3 separate regions of the Homo sapiens genome follow, and all the other regions are linked to region 3. The links are contacts of gene promoters, found by promoter capture Hi-C in blood cells and fetal thymus (Javierre and others, 2016). All regions are on one chromosome and are shown on one strand. Each heading gives the region's core, a stretch centred on a gene start or on the middle of the fragment in contact. The rest is flanking DNA. Distances are from core to core; before and after follow the strand shown.

Region 1 (4,017 bases), core at 621-3,120, 740 kb before region 3:
GAGCCCCAGGATGGATCCTGACCCCAGTGGCAGATAGAAAAGTTGCAAGAGTGAGGCCAGGAGGGAAAAAACTAACTTTAAACTTAACATTGGGTCAGGTATGGTGGCTTATGTCTATAATCCAAGCACTTTTGGAGGCCAAGGCAGGTCTGTTGAAGCCAGGAGTAAGAAACCGGCTTGGGCAACCTAGTGAGACCCTCTCTACAAAAAAAAGAAAAAAAAAAAAACGCAAAAAAAATAGGCAGGTATGATGGCACATCTGTATTCCTAGGTACTCGGGAGGCTGAGGTGGGAGGATCACTTGAGACCAGGAGTTTGAGGTTATAGTGAGTTATGATTGAAACCACTGCACTCCAGCCTGAGCAACAGAGTGACACTCTGTCACTAAAAATAATAATAATAATAATAAGCTTAACATTGGTACCACCGTTGATGGCTTCCTTGACCAAGGCTTCAGTCAGAATCTGTACACTTATTGTCCACAATGCCAACGAAGCTTTGCAAAGCCCGTCCTCACACCCCAAAGTTCGATAGCCAGAAATGTGGGCTGGATAGAATCAAAAGGGCCTAACGGGAGGCCTCCTCCACCCTAGCCACAATCTCTCTAGCGTTCAGTGAGTATTCACCATGGGCTGAGGGCGGCAGAGTGTCACTTGAGCCTCATGAGCGACTTAGTTTGTTGTCCTACTTTTATAAGTGAACAAACTGAGGTCATAGTCCCAGGGAGTGCAGTCTCCAAAGTTGGAGCCTGTTTGACACCCCTGCCTGGCCTCACACGGGGGCCAAATCTGCGGTTTGACATTTTATCGGTGATTTAGATCAAAGAGGGAAAGGATTGAATTAGCAACTGACAGGAAGCTGGAGGGAACAGCAAATAAGATAGAGGAAAAAAGCAGCTTCAAACCATTGTGAGAGCCAGCTGGTGGAAAGCAGCCTGCTGGGACCTGCAGGGCTGAAGGTGCCTGTGTGTGGGATGGCAAGCATGCCCACAGAGCAGGAAGGCAAGTCTCTGTGCTCTGCCCAGAGATCCCACGTGTGGGAATTGCACCTTCAGAGGAACACTCTGGAGCAGACCAGGGAAGGGCCTGGGCATGACACAGCCAAGGTGAGCAGCGAAGATCATCTGGCTGGAACTTTGCCAATTATGTGCCAGGAAGGGCCGGGGTCAGGTGGGCCCCGAAAGGAGGCGGACAGTGGAAGGGGCTATGCAGTCATTCACGCTCACCCCAGCCGGGGTCTCCTACACTCTTGTCTGGTGAGACAGATATGGAACAGGGGTCTGAGAGCTGGGGAGGAGGAGCTGTGTGTGAGTTCTAGTTCCTCACGGGAGTGGGGAGCAGGGTGTCTGCAGGTGAAGACAGGAGCAGTGGAAGTGTCCTCTTCGACAGTGGGTACCGTGGTCCAAGGACTCAGCTCCATAGAGGAGAGACTTTGAAGCCAGGCAGGATGGGCAGGGTGGCCTTGGGCAACTCTCTGAGCCTCTGGCCTTATTTGTGGCACTTACTTCTTAGAGCCACATGGAAGGAGGGGACACTAATGGGACACATTCTGAAAGATCCTTATTGATTAGAGCCAAATTTACACATGCACACACACATGGACTTGCACGCACATGTAAACATACTCGCACATATGCGAACACAAACAGGCGTGTGAACATGCACACACACGCTCCCACGTGTTCACATACACATGGACTTGCACGCACATGTAAACATACCCGCACATATGCAAACACAAACAGGCGTGTGAACATGCACACACACGCTCCCACATGTTCACACACACCTACTGTGATCTCAGAACCTCAGGGGCCACAAAGCACTCTGGGGAGCAAAGCCTGCACCCACCCTCTTCCTTGACTTGGGGTCTATCCCTGGGGTCGGGGAGGGACAGGCAGGACGGCCAAGGATTAGTGGCTCATGGTGCTTCCTGGACGTCCGTGGTCCTTGGCTGGTGCAGTCTGCTCTTTCCAGACAGGACCAGCATCTCCACAAATGAATCCCCAAGGGGCCTCAAGTGGTCACATCAGACGACTCCAAGGAGGCAGAGCCCCATGTCGGAGGCAGAGGCAACTGTGCAGGAGTTTGCGCTTTGGCTGAGGCACTGGCGAATGTGGTAGACATGAGACTCTGTCCTGTGTGGCTCCAAAACTGCCCCGCAGTTCTGCTCCTGGGGGGCCCGGGGCATGTGCACACTCACATGCACGTACACTCACATGCACGTACACTCACACACATGCACTCACACACATGCACATACAGCCTGCGGGAGACTGAGAAGCCCTCTGCAGGCATTTGGGAGGCAGCCTCTTCAGTTCTGTGGCTCATCTCACTCACCTGAGGATCCGATCGGAATTGGAGCTACTCTTGGAAGGATCTCCTGTCTGCGGCTGCTGCTTCTCATGGGATTTGGCTAATTTTTCGGCGGCAGCAATGGGACACCCAGACAAACTAGAGGAAGGAAGAGGAGGGGTTTCTGAGCCTTCCCCTCCATGCCTGTCCTGTCCTGGGTGTCTGTGTGTGTGGGTGTCTCACGGCAAGGTCATTCAGATGTGAGAACTCCAGGTGAACTCCAGAGAAGCCCAGAGCCGGGAATAACCCTGTCATTCTGCAGGACAGGGGTTTTCTCTCTGGCTCTGTTCTTGAGCCCTCACAGTACAAGCTGCCCAGTCAGTTTCTGTTTTGGAACATTCTATGCCAAGGACACACAAAGATGAAATATATCCTAAAGGCCTTGAAAGCTCTGGGCAAAGATGCCTCCTCTGCATGGGTCTGGGAGACAGGCTTGCCCTCACCCCCTTCCTCTCCCTTCCCAGCTTGCAGGGCTGGATTCTGCAGCCCTCTCTGGCGCTTGTTCTGTTAGCTGCTCTGGGGCAGCCCAGGGCCCCACTTGGACCACAGCCTGGGCACTGACCCTGGATGACACAGGCCCAGGAAAGTACTCAGTCTAAGACACGGAGGCAGCAGCTTCATCTGTCAGAATAAAGTTAACTGTGAGCTCCAGCGCCAGTCCCTCAGCCAGCCCAGGGAGGTGACGTAATGGGGAACTGGCCTCTTTTCAAATGAAGTGACCTCAAAAGCTCTGGCAGTCCTTTCAGCTGAGCATAAGCCTGCTGGGGGAAAGCATATCCCACCGAGGCCACGGCCACCCATGGCACTTAGGGTAAGGCTGGAGGAGTAGTCCCCCCTCACCATAGAAGACCAGTCAACAACTACACCTCGAGGGTGGTCGGGAAGCTTCACTTCCACCTGGGCCTCAGAACTCCCACAAAGCAGCCCAGAGCACAGTCCTGGCCTGCCGAGGTTACTGTTCATGTCTGCCCTTCCCACTCAGGAGCAAGAGCCAGTGTGCAGAGGTTTTCTGAATGTGGGTAGGACACAAAGTATTCACCTGGCTCTCACATGGTTGTTGTACCTCTCTTCACAGAGGGTGCATTGCTCCCTCCTCTGCAGGCCGCCCCCTGCTCTCTCGGGAGCTCGTAGGGTTAAGGCAGCAACACCACTGGGTGACTGCACCTCCAGTTGCCACTCTGCCCTCACAAAGGCCCCTCACCGCCCAGGTGTGCCCTGACCTTGTACCCACTCCTCAGGGCGGCAGGCTGGGAGAAGGGTAGCACACAGGGAGCCCCAGGCAGGCCAGAGCCCCGTCCCAGGTCACGGGCTCACGGCCCAGGCAGGGACACACAGGCCCAACCCAGGTGCCCTACCCCACGTGGAGCCCCCCACCACGGCCCCCACCCTGGCCCCCACCACGGCCCCCACCCTGGCCCCCACCACGGCCCCCACCCTGGCCCCCACCACGGCCCCCACCCTGGCCCCCACTACGGCCCAGCTCAGTCCAAGTACCTTCTGTGCGTGTTGCGGTTGCTGTTCACGTGACCCTGGCCTGTGCAGCCAGGAGTGGGGCACTTCAGCACGTTCTCATGCATGGCTAAGACTGTAAGAGAACAGGGGGTGGAGGGAGCCGAGGCTGTCAGAGAATCTGGGGAGCGCCAGCTGTGTGGGGAGCACAGGC
Region 2 (4,013 bases), core at 530-3,029, 690 kb before region 3:
CCACTCTCCGCCACACTCGGGGCTGACTTTGTGTTTCTGTCTCACACTCACGCAGACGCTCACAAACATTTGGCATCCAGTTTGTGAGACCCTCACATACATATGCACACTCACACACGTGCACTCACACACACAGCAACTTTGAGTGTGATGAGGACGCAAGCAGCAGCGGCCCTGGCCAAAGCCCCTTAGCTACAGTTAAGTCCCAGGGGACATCTGTCGCGCGCACGCGCGCGCGCACACACATTCTCTCTGCCACCTTCTCACAGAGTCTCACAGAGCCTTGCTCCAGGCCAAGGGCTCCTGACACCCACCAGCTATATGGCCTGCCAGGCAGATCCAGGCAGGTAAATCAACAGAAAGAAGGCCCAGCTGGCCTCTGCACACACCCTGCCCACCGCCCTCCCACCTCCAACCTTCTGCAGGGCAGCGTTCACAGGGCTCTGTGCCGTCAGCACTTCTGCAAGCCACGGGATCCGCTAGAAGGGGAGGTGGCTGTTTCCCCAGGGGCCCTGGCCATTGTTCAGGAGGGAGCATGTCTGTCACCTCCTTGGCTGCCCAGAAAAGAGCACTGAGCTCTGAGGGGGGGACACACACAGCTAATTAGTCCCTTTGGCATCTTCGCAGAAACTTGTGAACAGACCAGGGAGGGACGCGAGGGGCTGGGGGTGGTACGCACCCAGGAAGGTCCCGCAGAGCGTCATCCTGGCCAGGGGGTGCACCTTCTCTCTGGGAACACACGTCACTTCATGCTGGAAAAAGTTGCTGCACAAACTTGTGTCCCAGGGCCCTGGGGAGACCCCACTGCATCCAGCCAATCAAGACCAGGGAGCAGATAATCACAAATTGATGCCCCGGCTGCCTGCCAATGAGGCTCTCTTCTCCACACAATGGGCTCAGGCCCCAGACAATCTCTCCCCCACCCCGCAGGGCCAGGGAAGGGGAGTGAGGGGAGGCAGAGACACAGCCCTTCCCACACAGTAATGGACTCACAGTGAGTGAGGGGAGGGGGCCCTTCCTGAAGATGCATCCCTTCCCCCGCTTCCTCTCTCGGAACTGCCACACTAGGTCCAGCCTGAAACCTGGTGGGGAACCAGCCAGGATGCATGAGTGGGGTCAGGTCTCGCTCCCTACAACCCAATCACTGCCTGTTGAGACAAGGCCCCTGAGGGCCCTCAGCTGGTGTGGTTGACTCCCCACCACCAGATCCCAGGCACAAGGTATGGTGGGAGGTGCCAGGGGGAGGCAAACTGTAGAAGTCAAGAATCCCTCGACAACCTCAGGCCCTGCAGGCAGAGGGTGGGGTGTGCAGGAAGGAAAGGGCAGGGAGAGAGGGCTGCCCAGAAGGACCTGGACCTTCCAGCAGCTACAGCCGCGCCAGGGCCAGGGAGGGGCAGGGTGTGTGGATGGGAGTGAAGGTGGGCACTGCAGAGGCCTCTTCCAGAATGATTCCTAGTCCCTCGAACTGGGCCCACGACCTTTCACTGCCCACAGGGGCCCTTTGAAACGATGAACTTGGCCTCACCATGGAGCCCGGCTGTCCTCTGGGCCAGCTTCCCCTGATGCCGAGGGAAGCTCCCATCACCCCAGGCAGCTCAGGGTCACCTCCTGGTCCTCAGGTTCTGCAGGTGTCTGTCCCTGCAGGGGACAGGTGGAGGCCCAGGTGATGCTGGCTTACCTCTACCAACACGTGGCCAAGTCCAGGCTAGTCTCTCCCATCCAGGGCAGCACTGAGGGGGAGGCCCGGAGTATGGAGGGTTCAAACCTTTGGAGGAGGCAGATCTGGACTGACCCCTGACCGGCCCCTCCCAGCTGGGTGACCAAGAGCAAAATGTTTAACATTTACATCTTCAGTGAGGTCTATGGTGAGTGCTACTGGGCGGCAATAGACGGTAAAGGGTGTCCCAAGAGAAGTGACGAATTGCATTCGAGTTGGGACACCCCCTCAGGAATGAATCGGGTTGCTGAGGGTCTGGATGTGGTAGGGACAGAGAGGCCACAGGAGACTCCAGGGCTGGCCAGAGCCATGAGGTGGGCGGCAGCACCCCCTGAGAGGGAGACGCTGAAGGAGGGCAGATTTGTGGGAGTTGCTGGCTCTGCTGGGATGTCTGAGCGCCTGTTAGTCACCAGGTGACACCGTCAACAAGGGTGACAGTATGGAGGCTGAGGCTGGGGGCAGAGATTAGGCTGGAAATAAATGGTGAGTCATCTTGTTTAGAGGAGAGAACATCGAGGGGTGAAGGTGCTCAGAGGCTGGTGAGCGTGCAGGAGAAGCAGGAGGAAGCAGGTGGGTGCAGGGGGGACAAGTGGGAGGCCAAGAGGGGCAGGTAGGGGTGGGGAGACAGGTGGGGCAGGTGGAGGTAGGAGGGGGGAGGGGGGACATGTGGGGGGCAAAAGAGGGGCAGGTTGGAGGCAGGGGAGACAGGTAGGACAGGTGGGGCCAGGAGGGGCATATGGCAGTGGTGAGACAGGTGGAGCAAGTAGGGGGAGGGGAGGGGATGGGGTCAGGAAGGTAGAAGAGGGGCGGGGTCAGGTGGGGCAGGTGGTGGCAGGGACCAGTGGGGCAGGTGGGGGACACAGACAGGTTGGGCAGGTGAGGACAGGGGCAGGTGGGGCAGGTGGGGACAGGGACAGGTGGGGCAGGTCGGGGAAAGGGGTAGGTGGGGCAGGTGGTGGCAGGGGCCAGTGGAGCAGGTGGGGGACACAGACAAGTGGGGCAGGTGGGGGACACAGACAAGTGGGGCAGGTGGAGCAGGTGGGGGACACAGGTGGGGCATGTGGGGCAGGTAGGGGAAAGGGGTAGGTGGGGCAGGTGGTGGCAGGGACCAGAGGGGCAGGTGGGGGACACAGACAGGTTGGGCAGGTGGGGACAGGGGCAGGTGGGACAGGTGAGGACAGGGGCAGGTGGGGCAGGTGGGGATGGGGCAGGTGGAGACAAAGACAGGTGGGGACAGGGACAGGTGGGATGGAGCAGGTGGGGCAGGTGAGGACAGGGGCAGGTGGGGGACAGGAACAGGTGAGGACATGAACAGGTGGGCAGGACAAGGATAGGCAGGGACAGGGGCAGGTGGGGGCAGGGGTAGGTGGGGCAGGTGAGGACAGGGACAAGTGGGGCAGGTAGGGACAGGAACAGGTGGGGACAGGGGCAGGTGGGGCAGGTTGGGCACAGGGATGGGTGGGGCAGGTGGGGCAGGTGGGGACAGGATGGGGACAGGGGCAGATGGGAAAGGTGGGGACAGGAGCAGGTGGGGACGGGGACAGGTGGGGCAGGTTGGGGACAGGGACAGGTGGGGACAGGGGCAGGTGGGGGCAGCTGGCCACAGCAGATGCTGTGTGGAAGAAGGGTTTTCCCCTGTGAGTTCTGCCTCTTCTCCTCGTCCACAAGGACGTCTGTGCTTAGGGGAAGTGACCTGGGGCAGATTGCCAAACCTTTCTGTGACTCAGTTTCCCGATCTATCAAATGAGGGCAACAGAAATGTCAGAAAGTGCCAGCAGGGGTTGGTGCTGATCCATCTGCCCGCCCATCACGGAGACACCCCTCGCAGTAGCCAGGGGGCTCCTCCCAACACCACAGCTATCAAATGCAGTTTGCAGTTCCAACTTGCTCCACCTGACTGGGACTCCCTACCCTTGGGGAAAATATGTTCTTCGGATGGAGTTAATTAAGACTGATTATTTAAAGGAACAATGGTGAGAAATCCAGGAAAAGCTTGTGCTGCTGCCTTTCGGTAGAACCAACCAGCCTGGTAATCCATCACGTGATGAAACGACTTGGACACGTTCAGAATCAGGAAAGACAGGGCCAGCGCTCCTCTCTGAAGTTCTGCTCGAGAAAGGCCCTCCAGCTCCCCCACCCCAACTCAACACGTGCTCAGGGGGCCAGCTCCAGGGGAACCTGGCCAGGCTGAGTCAGAACTCACCAGGTTGACCGTGGATGCATTAGGGTTTGAGGGGCATTTGCCATAGGCCATGCGGCCCAGCCTCACCCCACAGCCGGGAGAGTCCAGCCCCGT
Region 3 (3,860 bases), core at 142-2,641:
AGGGCAAACACAACTCAAGAGCTCACTCTGCACCAGGGTTAGGGCTGTTTTATGAGCAGGTCACCTGCGAGGACGGCGCCAGCGATTCAGCAGAGGGCCTTTCTCTGGGTAGAACCCATGGTGCCAGGCGAACGTGCAAACAGGCTGGATGTAGTCAGAGACGCACTCGAAGATGACACCCCTCCTGGATGTGCAGAGGAAGGCCCAGTGGCGGGGCACCTCACAGGGCGGGCAGCACTGAGCCGCAGGGGTCCCTTGGTCTCCCAGCAGCAGCTCCAGAGGGACCCCTCCCAGGACACATGGCTGCCGGCAGGGGGGAGGCCACCTCCGCGCACTTGCCCCCAAGGAAACACCGTCCCATCTGTGTCCAGGAGGCACAGATCTGCCTCCTTTGTCCCGAGGTGTGGCACTGGGCTTCCTGCTGGCCTGTCTGCTGCCCTGGGGCCACCCTCCAGTCCCTGCCCCTGCCACAGGCCCCTTCTGGGGTCTGCATAACTAAGTCCAGGCCCCTTGGGGGGCTTCAAGGCCCTCTAGGAGTGACTCTCTCCCATCCCCCACCCCATGGCCCTTGCTCCTCTTCTTGCCTCCCGGCCTCTGTGGCCACCCCCTTTCCCCTGGGCTGCTTTCCTTGCAGGGTGCCTCCAGCCTCCACAGACCCTCCCTGCACACACCCTGGGGTCTAGGGGGTCCTACTGCCTGGGCAACCCTGACACCGAGAGCATGAGGTCACCATGGGCTGAGCCCTAACAGAGTCTTGGGGAGAGCCCCTACCCCCATCCCTTCCCGGAGGCGTCCACTCCCAGGGCCCAGCTGAGAAGACTCCAGTCCTGCTCAGGCGGCTGGGCACCGCTCTGGGACCCCAGGAGCGCTGGGGCCACCAGGCAGGTCCACTTGGTTAGTACTACCGGACTCAAAGGTGACCGCAGGGTCAGTGTGCACATGGCCGGGGGATTGGGCAGGCTCAGCCCAGAGCTCTGGTCCCGCGGGCCTTGGTCCCTTCTGCCTCCCCCTCCTCTCCCCCTGCCCTCCCCTCCCCCTCCCCCACTCCCCCTCCTCTCCCCCCTCCCCTCCCCCTCCACTCCTGTCTCCCCCCTCCACTCCTGTCTCCCCTCTCCCCGTCCCCGCCACTCTCCTCCCCTCCCATTCCCCTCTCCTCCCCTCCCCCTCCCCTCCTGTCTCCCCTCTCCCCGTCCCCTCTCCCTCCCCTCCCCTCCCTTTCCCTCTTCTCTCCTCCCCTCTCCTCTCCTTCCCCCCTCCCCTCCCCTCCCCGTCCCTCCCTCTCCCCTCCCTTCCCCTCCCTCTCTTCTCCTCCCCTCTCCTTCGACTGGCGTCGCGGGGGTTAACGCGGGGCGGGGCGAGGCGGCGGGCGGAGCCGGCGCGGCCGCGGGCCAGGCGCCGAGGTGCGCGCGGAGCGAGGTGGCCGCAGCGTCTCCGCGCGCGGCCCAAGCCCGGCAGGAGTGCGGAACCGCCGCCTCGGCCATGCGGCTCCCGGCCGGGGGGCCTGGGCTGGGGCCCGCGCCGCCCCCCGCGCTCCGCCCCCGCTGAGCCTGAGCCCGACCCGGGGCGCCTCCCGCCAGGCACCATGGTGCAGAAGTCGCGCAACGGCGGCGTATACCCCGGCCCGAGCGGGGAGAAGAAGCTGAAGGTGGGCTTCGTGGGGCTGGACCCCGGCGCGCCCGACTCCACCCGGGACGGGGCGCTGCTGATCGCCGGCTCCGAGGCCCCCAAGCGCGGCAGCATCCTCAGCAAACCTCGCGCGGGCGGCGCGGGCGCCGGGAAGCCCCCCAAGCGCAACGCCTTCTACCGCAAGCTGCAGAATTTCCTCTACAACGTGCTGGAGCGGCCGCGCGGCTGGGCGTTCATCTACCACGCCTACGTGTGAGTGGCCGGCGGGGCCCCCGTGGCGACCCCCATGGCGACCCCCATCGGCGACCCCATCGGCGACCCCGGCCAGGCTGGCTGCGGCGGGTTTGGCTCCCTGCCCCTGGGTCTGGGTCCGGGGCCGGCGCTCCCCGGCGGGAGTGCTGGGCCGAGACCGGAGAGCGATTGTACAGCGCGCGGGCAGGAAGGATTCCGGGGTCGGGGCCGCTCAGGTCGGGGTGGGGGCTCCAGGCCCGCAGGACAGAGACGTGCGGCCGCCCCAGCCCCCTCCTCAGCCTGGGAGGCCCCTCCCCGCGGCCTCTGCGCCGAACAAAGGGCCGGCCGGGGAGGGACGGCGGCAGCGCTGGGTCTGGACTCTCCGGGACTCTCGGGGACCCGCGGGGCTGGGGCCGCCCGACCAAGCGAGGGCGGGGGGGAGGGGTCTGGCCTGTCCTCCGCCATCCTCCCGAGCCGCTCTCCCTCAGACTAGGGTGAGCTTCTGGGTTCCTGAGATGGGGGAGGGGCCCTCCCATGACCCCCCCACCCCAGCCCGGGCTGAGCGCAGCTGTCTGTCCTGCCCCCTCGGCGCCGACGCCCCTCCCTGGCCCCGCGAACCCCCTCAGCTCCTGCGCTCAGCTCCTGCGCTGTCCCATCTCTGCAGCCGCCGGCCGCCCCCGTGCACATCCCGGGCTCAGGACCCCTCCTTGGCAGAGCGAGGCCCGGGGGAGGGGCTGCGGCAGACCTGGGACCCCCAGCCCTGGGCCTGGAAGGGGCTGTCCCCTCTTCCCGGGCGAGGCTCAGGGAACGGCTGCCTCCTGGGGCAGGGCTGGCGGGGGGCGGCCGAAGCCTGCGTCCGTGTGCACCTGGGTGTTCGCATGTGGAATTGCACGGCCCGCTGCGTGTGCGGCCTGTGCGGCCGGTGTGCACAGCCTCCCCGCGCCAGGGCGCTTGCTCTCCCATCCCAGCTGAACAAGGGACCCGCTGAGCTCCGGGACCGGCCATTTTGTGTGAGAGGCATTTTGGGATGGGAGTGAGGGGCAGACTGGTCACAAGCTGGTCGGGCGCCCACCTGGGCCGAGAGGGGTGTGTGCCCCACGAGTGTGCCCCAGCCTGCGTGTGGCCTTGAGTGTGCCCTTAGCAGACCCTCCGTGGACTGTGATATGAGAGGGTTCTGGGGTAGGGAGAAGATCCCAGAGGGAAATGCCAGGCCGCTTACAGGGAGGGTGTCTCCGTGGAGGGCCCCTGGGCACCCAGCCTGGGACTCCCCAAGCAGAAGCTTCTCCGACCTCCTGGGTCCTGGAAGCCCTGTGGCCCCCAGGAGGTGAGTCTAGCTTTTCCAGTCCAGGGTTCATTCCCGAATCCCCAGATGAGCTTCTGTGTTCTCAGGAATGGCCTCCCCTGATGGCCCCCACCTGGCTGGGGGCCAAAGGGGCTCTTGGTGGGCCGGTACTGGTCAGCCAGGTCCCTGCCCAAGGTGACTCCCCGGAGGAGGGTAGGATAGAACCCACCCCCACAACCCTCCTGCCCTGACAGCCTGGCCAGCGCCCCGCTCTGCGTCTGACCCAGGGTTGGTTCTGCTTTGAGTCCATGATCCAAGGGCCCAGCGTGGCTGTTCCTGAGGTTTCCCGTTGGGTCAGCAGCTCTCCGCATGGCCGCCCCCTGCCTGGGCCTGCGTGGGTCAGCCCCTCTGTCTCTCCTTCCTGTCTCTGCCTCCTGAGAGCAGCAGTCCAGAACTGGGGCAAAGCATGGGGACACTTGCACATGTGGGGTCTGAGCCGTCTCTTCCTGACCACCCCCAGTCCGGACGGGCCCCCTCTAAGATAGAGCAGCAGCATGCGGGGGCTTCAGGCGAGACCCTCAACGTCTGAACAGCCCCGCCTTCCAGCCTGCACTAGGCCTCTCCTCAGCTCCTTTGCTGTGGGCACGGAGCTCCCTGAACCTCCCTGAGCTCCCAGGCTCTCCTCAGCTCCTTTGCTGTGGGCAGGGGTGGCTTGGACTCA

What was found. Contacts are between HindIII fragments. The CHiCAGO score rates a contact against its expected background, and 5 or more counts as called.
Region 1: a contact is called between a fragment that was not itself captured here and the fragment with the promoter of KCNQ2 in region 3, in 1 of 17 cell types (endothelial precursors). The highest score is 5.3, in endothelial precursors.
Region 2: a contact is called between a fragment that was not itself captured here and the fragment with the promoter of KCNQ2 in region 3, in 1 of 17 cell types (M0 macrophages). The highest score is 5.1, in M0 macrophages.

The regions. Positions count from the first base shown.
Region 1 is chr20:64,211,970-64,215,986 of GRCh38, reverse strand. It overlaps MYT1 (myelin transcription factor 1), which reads right to left. Exons shown (of 23, transcript NM_004535.3): 9 at 3,849-3,939; 10 at 2,340-2,453. Among named protein-coding and RNA genes, the nearest start is that of PCMTD2, 42 kb to the left of the region's middle. The HindIII fragment of the contact is 2,743 bases long and covers 499-3,241 here.
Region 2 is chr20:64,157,221-64,161,233 of GRCh38, reverse strand. No RefSeq gene overlaps it. Among named protein-coding and RNA genes, the nearest start is that of MYT1, 5.2 kb to the left of the region's middle. RefSeq lists an enhancer at 1,815-2,535. The HindIII fragment of the contact is 3,865 bases long and covers 1-3,711 here.
Region 3 is chr20:63,470,186-63,474,045 of GRCh38, reverse strand. It overlaps KCNQ2 (potassium voltage-gated channel subfamily Q member 2), which reads left to right and starts at 1,391. Exons shown (of 17, transcript NM_172107.4): 1 at 1,391-1,878. The coding sequence starts at 1,583. RefSeq lists an enhancer at 3,562-3,860. The HindIII fragment of the contact is 3,283 bases long and covers 1-3,138 here.